Linked DNA regions of Homo sapiens: region 2 is linked to region 1. Evidence: promoter capture Hi-C in human tissues and cell types (Jung and others, 2019). All regions are on one chromosome and are shown on one strand. The core of a region is centred on a gene start or on the middle of the fragment in contact, and the rest is flanking DNA. Distances in the headings are between cores, read along the strand shown.

Evidence for each region. Contacts are between HindIII fragments. The study calls those that stand out against the background at their distance.
Region 2: a contact is called between a fragment that was not itself captured here and the fragment with the promoter of PPIL1 in region 1, in 1 of the 25 tissues and cell types used here (IMR-90 fibroblasts).

Annotation. Positions count from the first base shown.
Region 1 is chr6:36,871,032-36,878,484 of GRCh38, forward strand. It overlaps PPIL1 (peptidylprolyl isomerase like 1), which reads right to left and starts at 3,772. Exons shown (of 4, transcript NM_016059.5): 1 at 3,686-3,772; 2 at 687-841. The coding sequence starts at 3,741. It also overlaps a transcript of C6orf89 not described here. RefSeq lists an enhancer at 3,763-3,992. The HindIII fragment of the contact is 10,323 bases long and covers 1,507-7,453 here.
Region 2 is chr6:37,283,970-37,291,307 of GRCh38, forward strand. TBC1D22B (TBC1 domain family member 22B) reads left to right here. Exons shown (of 13, transcript NM_017772.4): 6 at 367-495; 7 at 3,038-3,103; 8 at 7,274-7,338. Among named protein-coding and RNA genes, the nearest start is that of TMEM217B, 29 kb to the left of the region's middle. RefSeq lists an enhancer at 2,110-2,159 and silencers at 3,821-3,910, 3,951-4,010. The HindIII fragment of the contact is 6,830 bases long and covers 1-4,697 here.

The sequences.
Region 1 (7,453 bases), core at 2,522-5,021:
CCCTATAAGGTATCATATCTTATGATTTCCAGCACAGGTTCCTGCCTCAGGGCCTCTGTGTTTGCTCTTCCCTCCATCCAAAATGTTCTCCCCACAGTTGCAAGGTTCACTTTCTTACTTCATTCAGATCTCTTCTCCAATAATGTCAGAGAGGAGTTCCCTGACTTTTCTACTAAAATTCCATCCCCACACCCTTTTCCTGCTTTATTGAGAGCAATAATTCTGTCTCTTTGTTTATAGGTATCTCCCTAGAGCTTAAAAAAGTATCTGACACAAAACAGGTACTCAGTATTTGTTAAATGAATGAATCGATAAAAGAACCCAGGATTTTATTATTCTCAAAATATTATAAAGTCTTTCCTTCTTATTGATCAGACTACTTGCATCACTATAATTCAGACAAATATTATTTGTTCTTAGTGAGCAGTACATGTAAGTTATGAAAAACTCTACCAAGCCTAGGAGTAAAGGTTGGTTTCTGGTCAATTCCACACATGTGTGTTTGAGGAAGGCAGGCGTTGTCACCAGAATCAACCAACACAGACCTTAGTAAGTGGAAAAGAGAGCTCTGGCTGCCTTATCACCTATTTACGACAGAGACTTCAGAAACTAATGCTGGCTTTAGAAAAAAAGACGAAAAGGAGAAAAAAAAAAGAAAACATAAACTAATGTTGGCTTAACTGTACCTGTCCCTGTTGGGTCACCTCCTTGGATCATGAAGTCTTTGATAATTCTGTGGAATTTTGTGCCATTGTAGTAACCTCGACGAGCCAACTCAGCAAAGTTCTTACAGGTCTTTGGAGCATGCTTCCAGTACAGCTCCAGCACAATGATTCCCATGCTGCAGAGGGAGAGGACAACAGCTCCAGTAAACAAAAAGGTCAGGGCAGACAGGAGTATTATGGAACTGCTCCAGGACTCTTGATTTTCAAGCTTGTAAGTCATGAAATTGTGATAACCACTGGATTTCATGCTCAGCAAAGGAAAACACCACAATGCAAGTAACATAAACACCCATTATCTTTTTTGAGTAAAACACGCAGGTGTTCTGGGTACTTCTTTTCAGCAAAATAACAAGCATGGAGAACTCAAAATTCTAATACTATACATATATACATATGTATATATATATAGCTATATCTGATTATCTGAAACCAATATAACCAACCCCTAAATTAGGAAAAAAATTCTTACACTTAATTTTTAATTTTTTAAAAAAAGAGACATTAAAATATCAGGAGTTCATATTTATTTAGAAGTTTCTGGGTGGGGGTAGGGACTGGGTAGATGGAAAATAGGAAGATGTTTAATGAATACCTTTTAAAAACTTTTGTATTTTTGATCCATGTAAATACATTACCTATTCAAAAAATTTCAATAAAAGGTACAGTTTGTGTTTGTTTGGGAGGGAGTATAACAAAGGCAAAACCTGGTAACTTTGAATCTTTGCACCTACCCAATAGGATGAGTGCTTTTTCCTCACCAGTACTACTAAAAGATAAGGAAGAGGCAAGAGAAAGGACGAGTGCCTTCCCCTCTACTCCAGCACATACCTAGACTTTAAGCTCCAAGGATGTGACAATTTTTTTTTTTTTGAGAAAGGGTCTCCTCTGTCACCCAGGTTACAGTGCAGTGGCACAATCTCAGCTTATCGCAACCTCCACCTCCCGGGCTCAAGTGATCCTCTCACCTCAGCCTCCTGAGTAGCTGGGACTACAGGCATGCATCACCAAGCTCAGCTAATTTGTTGTATTTTTTTGTAGAGATGGGGTTTCACCATGTTGCCCGGGCTTGTCTTGAACTCCTGGGCTCAAGCAATCTACCTGCCTTGGCCTCCCAAAGTGCTGGATTACAGATGTGAGCTATGGCACCTGGCCAGATGTGAGAATTGAGTCAACTCTGTATAGTCTGGATACCCAGTGCCTTGCACAGTGTAAACACTCTATAAGTATATGAGGAGTGTGCTAGAAAATAGCTAACAGCCTTTCTGCCTGAAATTCATCCAATTCATCTTTCACACTGCTCCCATTCAACACAGATTGACAGTTACTCTGTGTGTGGTACTCTTTCCCTCATGAAGCTTACATTCTGGAGGATATTTTCAAAATACAGAAAGTAGCCTTTTGGAAAGACAATCAGGAAGTACGTATACAATTCTGAAATGTGCATACCTCAGTAATTTCAACTTCCAAGTATCCTCTAGGAAAATATACAAAAGTGCCTAAGGATACAATATGTGCAAGGATGTTCATCTCAGTATTTGTCATAGCCAAAAAAAAAGGAAGCAACTTAAATGTCCTTGAAATAGGAAATGCCTAAAATATCAACTATCCATACTATGGGCAGCTACCTGAATTACTGAGTGAAAGAAAACCAAGTTACAGAAAAAACATACATACAGTATGATCATATGATCCCATTTTTTTGTTAAAAAAACATGAGAGAGGTTTATATGTACATAGAAAAAAGTCTGGACAATCATCCAACAAACTGTTGATGGTGTTTTCAGGAAGGAGGTGACTTTCACTTCTTACTCTGTATGTCTACATTGCTTGGATTTAACAATTTATTTTGTAACTTTAAAAAATACCAACAGGAGAATTCAGAAATTACAGGTTGGAGCCTGAAGATGTAGAATTTTGCCATATAAGGTGGGGAAGATGGCCAGGGAGCATGAAATGAACAGCATGAGCAAATAGAGAGAGGACTGACAGAACTCTGCTTTAGCTGAAAGCAGCAATGGGCAAGAACAGAAAGGCAGAGGACCTTGGCTGGTCCCTGGCTGTTGAGGGGAGAATGGCAGGTAGACAAGGGCCAGATGAAAAAAATCACCTTGAATGTCAGGATTAATACGTTTTTACTTTATACTGTTATAGCAGCAAGACGTTATTAAAGGTTTTTTGAGCAGGATCCCTTCCTTGTCCTACTTTGTAAAGATCACTTTGAGCTTTTTCCAAAGAGGCAATGGAATGAATAGAGCTAAAGGATCTAGCAAGGTGAGACGAGCACACCAGGCTCCAAACGAGGTTCTTCCAGTTACTAGCTGTGTGGCTTTGGTCAAGGCTTTAAGCTGTAAATTCCGGCGTTTCCTCCTGCTAATATTGAAAGGGAGAAAGTTAAATAATACCTTCATGATTTGAGTTGCTAAGATTAAACTAAATGAGATGACATACAGCGGGGCATGGCGCCAGCAGGTTGGTTACCACATCACTCTTTGATAGTGGGGAAAATGTGCTTCTTCCTGTATTTTACTGGAATTTGTTTCTACAACTGTATTACTTATCACGTAATGTTTACATGTCTGTCTCTTTCATTATACCGTAAGCTCCTAAAGGCAGGGCTGTCTGTGTTTTATCTACCTCTGTATCCTCAGAACTCATATTCCATATGCCTGGCTTGCGGACTCATTACACGTTTGTTGAATGAATGAATGAATGAATGAGCGGACTGGGGGAAGGAGGACAATCAGGCAGCTATTGCTGAGACCTCAGCACAAGACCCCGCGGAGCTTGGACGCGGGCGATGGCGGTCCCCTCTCAACCCTCTGGGGGCCGTCTCGGCCGCTGCTCCACGCCCCTCCACGTGGAGGCCGGCCTCCCGGAGGAACGCGCCAGGAACGCAGACCCGTGGTGAGGCCCGGGCTCCGCGTCTCCTCTGCCAGCCCCAGACGCCCGAACCCCCTCACCTGGTCTCCAAGTAAACGTTGGGTGGCTGCCAGGAATCTGGGGGAATTGCCGCCATAGCGAAGCCGGCGGCGGAATGCTTGTCTAGTAATTGCTACTTCCGGCGTCGATTAGCTGGGGACCCGTCGCTGCTGCACACTTCCGGTCCGTTCAACCCTTTCGATACCAGGATTTGGGTGGCCAAGACAAGGAAGAGGACGGTCCCTTCTTCCAATGCCGGGAAGCTGGGGTGGGAGACGAGAAGAAGCTGGGCTCAAGAACAGAGGAAAATGCAAACTTCATTCGCGGTGGTCTCCAAGTGGCGATACCGCGCCACTCTGGGCGATCTGATTGGTTCGTTTAGGCATGGAAGGCGGGAACAACCAGAAAAGCTGCGCTCTGGTTGGAGTTATGTCCTAATATTAAATTCGAAGAATTTCTTAGTCTCACAATTGGGCAGGGACGGGAAGGGGAGGCAGAGAATGAAAGAGGGTAGTTTAGAGATGCCAGTAAAGAATTTTTGTAAGGCGCTGTACGATGTACACAGTGCTTGCACTTTCTTATCTCATCTACTCCACAAAACAATTCTATAAGTAGATAGTATTATTACCATTTTTCAGATCTGAAAATAGACTCGGCAGTTAATACTTGTTTTTCCATAGTCATAAAGCAAATCTGAGCCTGCAGAATCCAAAGACGAGGAGTCTGAGGAGAAAAGAGAGGGAAGGGGCAGGAAGAAAATAGGAGATAAAGAAAGGAAGAGACAGGAGAAAACAGGACAAACGGATCAGAGCAAGAACAAGGCTTAACATTGGCTGGGATAGATGGTACCTGAAAGTTGTTAGGAGGGTTTGCGCAGGGCGCGAGGAACAGAAGCAAATTAGAGGAGCTATAATGTTTGGAGGGAGGACAAAAATGAAATAGAGTACCTAAACTTAACGCTGTAAATGCTTTGCACACCACTTAATAATGATGGTTGAATGTTTACCATGTGCCAGGCATCAAGCTAAGCATTTTATTGCGTATTTTCACGCTTAATCTTCAAAATCCCACAAGGTAGATATTACTATTCCCATTTTACTTTGAGGAAGCTGAGCCTTACAGATTAAATAACTTGCTTAAAGTACTACAGCTGGTGCACTTGTGCTCTTAACGACAGTTCAACTGTAATGTCCCTAATTGTCAACAAGGAATAAGGATGTACAAGGTTGTAAAGATAAACTAGACAGCTCCTTGAGAGAGGAGCTGGGCCTCCTTCATCTTTGTGCTCTTCTTGCACAGTACAGAGCACAGGGTGCTCAGCTTTGCTGAATGAATAATGAACGGAACACTACATTTTAAACTGATAAATGCTAAAGTATAATTTTTACACCTCCTGCAGTTTCAAGTTCATGCCCACCTTGTGGCCCTTGAGCTGGATGAAAAAGTCTTAATCCTTGGTCTGTTTAGTCTGTTGTTAAGTTGCCTTTCTCTGGACTTTATGTAGTTCTTTACTGTGTATCTCGGGAGTCATGTGCCATTCCCAGGCTCCAATGTCTGAATATTGAAAAGCCACCCCCAAGATCATGATCACTTTCTTCCTAAATCTTTTACTGCAGCTCCTACCAGTCACTTGGCACTGAGGAGACAGAGATGAGTCTCACACACACAGTGCCCTGCCCTAAAGAAACTCACATTCTAGGAGAGATGGGCAACTAAATACGTAGCTGTAGGAGCGTGGAATGAGGACTGTAATAAGAAGCACACAGTAGGTTGGGTGCAGTGGCTGACACCTGTAATCTGGCACTTTCGGAGGCCGAGGCGGGCAGATCATCTGAGGTCAGGAGTTCAAGACCAACCTGACCAACATGGTGAAACCCTGTCTCTACTAAAAATACAAAATAAGCTGGGCATAGTGGTGCATGCCTGTAATCCCTGCTACTTCGGAGGCTGAGGCAGGAGAATCACTTGAACACGGAAGGTGGAGGCTGCAGTGAGCAGAGATTTTGCCTTTGCACTCCACCCTGCACAACAAAAGTGAAACTCCATCTCAAAAAAAAAAAAAAAAAGAAGAAGAAGAAGAAGAAGAAGAAACACAGTTTTCCCTGAGCTCTGGTTACTCCAGAGTAGGTTTGGACAGTCAAAAATTTCCCCTGGAGTGACAGCCTGGGTTGAGATCCAGAAAATAAATTGGAGTTAGCCAGAAGCCATGAGGGGTCAAATCAAATCAAGAAATAAAATGTCTCCAATTCCTCAGAAGCCCCCCTACTAATCATTACCCATTCCTTCCTCCCAAAGGGTAGACCACTTTCTGCCTTCTAATATCATAGATTGGTTTTCCCTGTTTTTGAATTTTATATAAATGGAGTTATAAAGTACGTATTTTTTTGTGCCTGGCTTCCTTTCCTTAACAATATGTTTGTGAGATGTATTCATGTTGTATGTAGTGGCCATTTTTCATTTTTCCTTGCTGTGTAGTATTCTGTTGTACAAACATACCACAATGTATAATGGTGCTGCGATGGATATTTTGTGTATGTATCTTAGTGCACTTGTGCATGAATTTTTGGGAGTATATACCTAGAAGCAGAATTGCTGTGTCATAGGTAACATGTATAATTTAGTAGTTAACACTAGACTGTTGCAAAGTGGCTGTAGCAATTTTTTGTTTTTTTTTGAGACACAATCTCACTCTGTCGCCAGGCTGGAGTGCAGTGGCACAATCTCAGCTCACTGTAACCTCCACCTCGTGGGTTCAAGCGATTCTCCTGCCTCAGCCTCCCGAGTAGCTGGGACTACAGGCGCATGCCACCACACCCAGCTAATTTTTGTATTTTTAATAGAGACAGGGTTTCACCATGTTGGCCAGGATGGTCTCAATCTCTTGACCTTGTGATCTGCCCACCTTGGCCTCCCAAAGTGCTGGGATTACAGGCATGAGCCACCACGCCTGGCCAGTGGCTGTAGCAATTTATGTATGCACCAGCAGCCTGTGAGAATTGCTGTTGCTCTGCTTCCAAGCCAACTCTTAGTATTGCTAGTCTTTTTCATTTAAGGAATCCTGAAGCCTCTATAACAATATCTCAGTAGTAATTTCACTAACAACTAATGACTAATGAAGTTGAATTCTTTTTCCATATGTGTGCCATTTAGATATCCTCTTTGTGATACCTTTTTGTGTTCAAATCTTCTACCTATTTTTCTATTTGGCTGTTTTCTTATTTGTAAAGTTCCTTATATATCCTGGACAGAATATAACACTGGAAAGTTTCTAATTTTAATGTAGTCCAACATATGCATTTTCTCTCTTACAGAACATGTCAGTGTTGGACAGACATTATTGGACATCTCAATATTGCAGCTCTATAATTCTGTTTTGTTTTTATCATATAGATCTGCAATGCATCTAGAACTTATCTTGGTGTATGGTATGAGGTAGGAGCCAAGTTTCATTTTTTTCTATATGGATATACAATTGACCCAGCACCATTGATTGAAAGCATTATCTTTTCCTCACTCCTCTGTTTCACCTCTTTGTCATAAATCAAGTGTCCATATATGTGTTTTCTGGTTTTGGTCTCTCTATTCTGTTTCATTGGTTTCATACATTTATGTCACTGTCACACTACCTCTGTAGCTATAGCATTAGTCTGAACCCAGTAGTATTTTGTTTGCAGATTTCTTGTAGAAAGCAGTTAAGAGATTTGGCGCTACACACAGGGCAGGTTAAGGAGTCTGGGTTCAAATGCTGATCCTTCCATTCCTTATCTGTAAAATCTTGAGCAAGTTAACCTCTCCATAAACTTCAGTTT
Region 2 (7,338 bases), core at 33-2,532, 410 kb after region 1:
GCCCTGGACACACACAGCCCTCCGAGGCCATGACTTGGGTCCAGCTCCCTCCCACTGACCTACATTCACTGCTGTACTGTGCCAGCTCTGGGAGCTGAGGAGTGCTCACCAGTGGCACAAGCTCCAGCACAGTGCAGGGCCAAGGGAGTAAATAATCCTGGGAAAGCTGGCCTTGCTTCATCTGCTCACATGTGGATCTCATTGAATGAGGAGAGGGCAAAAAATGGGTGGCCAGAACCAAAAAGGGATTTACCCTTGGCAGTTTTCCTTCTTGGTAGTTTCCAAACCACTGCATAGATTAAAATAAAAATTAAGGATTTATCCAACCATTGTCTTTCCCCATCTGACCAGCAGTCTTGTCTATAGGGCTATCTCCCAGCAAACACTGAGAGGAGGAAGTTGACCCTGCAGCGGAAGCGGGAGGAATATTTTGGCTTCATTGAACAGTATTATGACTCTCGAAACGAGGAACATCACCAGGATACCTACAGACAGGTACAGTCACCACCTGCTGCCTCTTTGCTTACCAGTCATATACTTTAGGTATGTCTCATGGTAGTGCTCTCAGGGTACAGGCTTTCCAAGTCTTCAGGCTGTGGTATATTGGTTAGGAGTTAAATTTATCCTCAAAACTGTTTCCCCTCTTTTCATTCAGCAACTCTGATTTTAGCCATTTTAAATAGACAGACTTTTTTGGCACTAGTCAGTGCACTGCTTCTCAAACTTTAATGTACATACAAATCACCTAGGATCTTGATAAGATCTCACCTAGAGATTATGAGAAAATGCAGATTCTGATTTAGCAGGTCTCAGGTAAAGCCTGAAGTTCTGATGTGCTCCCTTGCAATGCTGCTGCTGCTGGTCCACCAACCACACTGTGAGTAGTAAGCGTTATCGAGCATGGAGAGGAAAGACAAGCTTACCTAGCCGTGGTCCAGTCCCTCTGGACTATGACATCAGTATGTCTTCCTGGCAGCTGCACTGCTGTTTTGGCATCTGTGACTGTAGGAGCTGTAGCTTTCAGTAGTCTTGTCAGGGAGTCTTCTGTCATTGCCCATAATGGTCCTCATGGTCTGCGGAAAGGTCTGCTCCCAACATCACATGTGGAGGGAGGAGAAGAGTAGGCCAGGGGTTGCAGAAAGTGGAAGGTGGGCAGCTATTTACAACAAGCCTCAAGAACTGAAGTAGCCTCTGCTGCTGCTGCTGCTGACACAGTCTTTTGCATAGTTAGACTGGGCACTGGGAAATCCCTGAGTTGAAATGGACTATAGTGATGTCTTAGGTAACAGAAGTAAGAACTTTCAGCTTCAGTTACTGAAGGCCAACTCCTTTTGGTCCTTCCCCACTTTTTTTTTTTTTTTTTTTTTTTTTTTGAGATGGAGTCTCACTCTGTCGTCCAGGCTGGAGTGCAGTGGCGTGATCTTGGCTCACTGCAGCCCCCACCTCCTGGATTCAGGTGATTCTCCTGCCTCGGCTTCCTGAGTAGCTGGGATTACAGGCATGTGCCACCAGGCCCGGCTAATTTTTTCTTTATCTTTTTTGAGACCGAGTCTTTTTCTGTCACTTAGGCTGGAGTGCAGTGGCGCAATCTCGGCTTGCTCCAGCCTTTGTCCGCTGGGTTCCAGCGATTCTCCTGCCTCACCCTCCTGGATAGCTGGGATTACAGGCGCACACCACCACACCCAGCTAATTTTTGTAATTTTAGTAGAGATGGGGTTTCGCCATGTTGGCCAGGCTGGTCTTGAACTCCTGGCCTCAGGTGATCCACCCACCTTGGCCTCCCAAAGTGCTGGGATTACAGGTATGAGCCACCATGTAATTTTTGTAATTTTAGTGGAGACGGGGTTTCACCATGTTGGCCAGGCTGGTCTCAAACTCCTGACCTCAAGTGATCCACCCGCCTCAGCCTCCCAAAGTGCTGGGATCACAGGCGTGAGCCATCGCCCTGGCCCTTCCCCGCTTCTTACACATCATGACTTCATAAGCAAGTTCATCTCTGGTTCCCTATTTTAGGACATTTTTGCAGCTTTCTGAGCTCTTCTAGTTCTTAGGAACTGTTGATGAGTAAGATTCTGAAAGATGGGTACCTACTTGGATCATACCTGCTACATACATGCCAGCCCAGAGTGAAACAGACTTCAGAGCAATAAGAAAAAACCCTTAATCTGTGAAGCCTATTGCCATTTGACTTTAGTGGTTTCTTTTGGGAGGTTTCCTCACTGTTTAATAAGCTATTGTTGTCATGGAAACATGTTCCACATGGGCAGGTAGGTATAACTAGATTTTTTTCCTGTGTCAGTCACTTCTTTCTGAAGATAAATTGTGTTTTCTTACTACTTTGATTTCCATTTCTTTTTTTTTTTTGAGACAGAGTCTTGCTCTGTCGCCCAGGCTGGAGTGCAGTGGCCCGATCTCGGCTCACTGCAAGCTCCACCTCCCGGGTTCACACCATTCTCCTGCCTCGGCCTCCCGAGTAGCTGGGACTACAGGCACCCGCCACCACGCCCGGCTAATTTTTTGTATTTTTAGTAGAGACAGGGTTTCACCGTGTTAGCCAGGATGGTCTCGATCTCCTGACCTCATGATCCGCCCGGCTTGGCCTCCCAAAGTGCTGGGATTACAGGCGTGAGCCACCGCACCCAGCCAGATGATTCCCATTTCTTTAAAAAAAAATTGTCAAAAGAACAAACTGGGCCAGGCACGGTGGCTCACACCTGCAATCCCAGCACTTTGGCAGGCCAAGGCGGGTGGGTCACCTGAGGTCAAGAGTTCGAGATCAGCCTGGTCAACATGGTGAAACCCCGTCTCTACTAAAAATGCAAAAATTAGCCAGGCCTGGTGGCAGGTGCCTGTAATCCCAGCTACTTGGGAGGCTGAGGCAGGAGAATCGCTTGAACCCTGGAGGCAGAGGTTGCAGTGAGCTGAGATAGTGCCATTGCACTCCAGCCTGGGGGACAAGAGCGAGACTTCATCTCAAAAAAACAAAAACAAAAAAAAACTGGCATTTGTGTTTTTGGACATGCCTTCTCTTTTTCAGATTCACATTGACATTCCAAGGACGAATCCTCTCATTCCGTTGTTCCAGCAACCACTTGTACAGGAGGTGAGGGAATTACTTAATGTTCTTTGGCGCTTCTCCCCGCATAGTTCTGTGGCACCTGTTTACAGGTTTGCGGCTAATCATAATAGTACCTTATGTTCATATATGCAGCTTTGGTTCCTTCAGAGCATGGTTTCATACATTTTCATTTGATCTTTGTTACAAATCTGTGAGCGGAATAACACTTTGAAAGGCTAAGGAACTTGCTCAGAATTTTGAGGCTACCTGGTGGCAGAATGAAGAACCCACATCTTAGAATTCCTATTCCTGTATTTGCTCTACTTTATCAAGCTGGAAGTAGTGATTTTTTAAATTGTGGTAAAATATACATAATATAAAATTTACTGTGTTAACCATTTTTTAGTGTACAGTTCAGTGGCATTAAGTACAGTCACGTTATTGTATGACCATCATCACCATCCACTTCCAGAACATTTTTCATCTTCCCAAACTGGAACTCTGTATCCATTAAATATTAACTCTCTTCTGCAGCCTCCATTCTATTTGTCTCTAAGAATTTGACTACTCCAGGCAGCTCAAATAAGTGGAATCATACAATATTTGTCCTTCTGTGACTGGCTTATTTCACTTAGCATAATATCTTTAAGGTTCATCCCTGTTGTTGCATGTGTGAATTTCCTTTTTTAAGGCTGAGTAATATTCCGTTGTACATATGTAACACATATTGTTGAGCTGTTCATCTATCAGTGGACACATGGGTTGCTTTCACCTTTTGGCTATTGTGAGTAATGCTGCTGCTAGTATGGGTATGTGAATATCTGTTTGAGTCTCTGTTTTAAATTCTTTTGGGTATATATTTAGAAGTGGGAGTAGTAGTTATATTTTGAGACCTAACAAGTTAATGAAGTACATGGAAGGTGTCAGTGGGGCTATTATGTTTTGACTCAAGCAGTAACTGTAAACTTCTTAAGATTAGGGATTTCCTTTGCAACTTTACAGTAGCCAGGACACTAAGTACTAGTGCTCTTTTAACGGAACTTTCAGTTCTCATAGTAGAGAGGGATGGTGGTTAAAATGCTGAAAATAATTTCTATTTGACTTTGGGTTATATTTATAATTTTGTTTAAATATAGATGTCTCCACTGGTGGGGTCCCTCATGTCTTACCCATAGCATAAAGAAGATTTTGAAGGTAACATCATTATTTTAACTATAAGATTCAGCTCACAGGAAGCTAAAAACCCATTCATGATCCCTTTATCCTCCCATACAGTTTTCCATGGCTCAGCACTGCTTATTCCTCATTTTAACTTGGAGATGTTCAGAGACTTTTCTTTTACCTGTGCATGCTTACTCTGAATTTGGAGATGAGGAAAGTAGTCAGTTTAAAAGGCTTCTCAGCCAGGCGTGATGACTCACTCCTATAATCCCAGCACTTTGGGAGGCCAAGGCCAGAGGGATTGCTTGAGCCCACGAGTTTGAGACCAGCCTGAGCCTAGGAGTTTGAGACCAGTCTGGGTAACATAGCAAGACCCTGTCTCAAAAAAATTACAGAATTAGCCAGGCATGGTGGTGTGTGCCTGTGCTACTGTGCCTGTGCTACTTGGGAGGCTGAGGAGGGAGGATCTCTTGAGCCCAGGTGGTCAAAGCTGCAATGAGCCATGATCGTGCTACTGCACTCCAGCCTGGGTGACAGAGCAAGATCCTGTCTCAAAAAAAAAAAAAAAAAGAGGTTGGGGGGTGGTGGCTTCTTTTAGTAGTGCATCCTGAATACAATATGGGAACTCAAACTTTATTCTCCCCAATTTTTCCTGAATGACCATTTCATCTAGCAGGCTACAGTCATCTTTTAAATTTTTTTTATTTTAACTTTTTAAGAGACAGGGTCTCACTCTGTCACCCAGGCTAGAGTGCAGTGGCATGATCATAGCTCACTGCAACCTCTACTCCCCGGGCTCAAGCAGTCCTCCTGCCTCAGCCTCCCAAGTAGCTGGGGCTGCAATCATGCACCACCACACCTGGCTAATTTTTTTTCTCATAATTTTTTGTAGAGATGGGGTCTTGCTTTGTTGCCCAGGACTGGTCTCGAACCCCTGGCCTCAAGCAATTCTTTCTGCTTCTGCCTCTCAAAATGCTGGAATTACAAGGCGTGAGCCACCATCCAGGCTGGTAAAAATGCCAACCAAGAAGCAAAGAACTAAGTAACACTGAATACGGAAAGGCTTGCTTTGAAAACCTGAAAGATACTTGATAATTGCCTATAGTATGTAAGAATTACCCACACTAGTAGAAGAGACATTGGAAGACCTCCAGCGGTTCTCCTATCCACTCCTCTCTATAAGGCAGGATTATCCCAGACTTTTTCTATAGCGAACATCCCATGGTCTCCCCTGATTACCAGGCTTGGTGCTCTTCAGTTTCCATCTCTTTGACCACTTCACTTGTACCATGTGAGTGTGTCTGTGTTGTTCCACCCTGACTAGAGAGGATGATCACAGGTCTCCTGATTCTGAACAGCTAGCTTCCATGTACTTGGCCATTGTTACAGCCAGGCGCCAAGGATTTGAGTATTTACAAGGGGCTGATCCTATAGAGTAGAAGCCCTTCTAAGTCCTTTGGAAAGACCAACCTGGAGGAGCTTTTTAATAGAGGCATCTAGACAGACCCAGGTCACAAGAAGTGCAAAGAAAGAGAGTGAGGCAGGGAATTATTGAGATTTTCCTGAAAACGATGGTTCTAGCTTTGGCTGTATTTTCAAGATAGAGGGATCATTTAGCAACAGAGAGGAAATAGAGTGTAAGAGCGTTCCCATTAGAGTGTTGGGCCGAATGCAAATGAGGGTGCTATGCCTTTTCCTCAACTACACAAAGCAAATGGGTAGGTCTAGTGAAGGCAGAGAGGCCAGCTCCCTTCCAGGAAAGGCTTTGTTCTCACTACCTATGAAGGCAGCAGTGTTGACAGTGAAAGAAACCGTTTCTCAGCTCTGTTTGCCCGCTGTAGGCACAACGATCTATGACAGAGAGGCTGGGAAGCATCCTTTATGTCTCTAGATTCTCTGTGTCCCTCCTACACTAGATAACCATCTCCAAAAACCATATAACCATTTCCTGTTTGTTGGTCTCCCTGGGAGGTTTTTCTGCCTTCCACCTGCTTGAGAGGGCCTCTTCAATCTGATGCAGTGGTGACTGGCTGAGATTCTCCCAAGTCCACATGCTTTCTAATCTCCTACCCTATCATCTGCATGTACTCACATCACCTCTGCCATCTCTCTGGTGTGGTTCTCAGAGGCATGAGGCAGCCCAGTCAAAGCCAGTCTCAAGAATGTGTCAGACTTGGGAATTGTGGTCACCAGGATGAAACCAGGCAATGGGTATTATCAGGTTGAGAGAAGATGGGGAGAAGCTCAGAGGGCCTAATGAAAGCGAGGGGAGTATAGTTGAGTGGGACAGGGCATGATTATGTAAAGGGACCATAAAGATCTTTCCTTTGTCCCCAGTGTAGGCCTCTGGCTTCTTATGGCTAATATGCTAAACCCCAGGGCCTTTCCCATGGGGCCCTGGCTGGTTTCTCTGTTCTCAAATTCCCAGCTATAGGAGTCCATAGGATTTTGTTTGACTTCCTATCCTTAGCAAACATCTGAGTTGTATCCTGATATGTGAACTGACTTCCTGCAATGTGCAGTCTGTCACTTGGTCCTAGTCAGGCTGGGTTAGAATTAAATCAAGACCACCTTTCTTCTCAGGCAGGGAGAGGGGAGGGTGGTAGAAAAGGTATTTCCTGTCTAAATCCTATAATGACCAAAAAAAAAAAAATTTAGAAAAAAGCATCAGAACTGGGATGTCCTGATATCTTGCTCTTGGAAATAGGAAACCATATCTACAGATGAGAATGTGGTGGCCTGAATTAACAGCATTCATCCCAAATGTTTTCTAAGGCATTTGGGTTTGCTGTTCTTTCCTTCTCCCAATTTTATATTGTGGTGACCAGATAATGAAAAAATGAATAAAGGGCAAGAAGTATCTACCCCTACTTGAAAACAATTAGTGTATTTAGAAACTTTTTGCATTTATATACTTCTTTATCCCACAGTATCTTAAAATTTTCCTAAAAATTCTACACCAACCTGGAGGTAAATTGTGAAGTAGGTAAACGGAGGGAAGGAGTGTGTGTCCCCGTGATTTAACACTCGTGTCTTTCTTTCTCATTTTCCTAGATCTTTGAAAGAATTCTATTTATTTGGGCCATCCGCCACCCTGCCAGTGGGTATGTCCAGGGAAT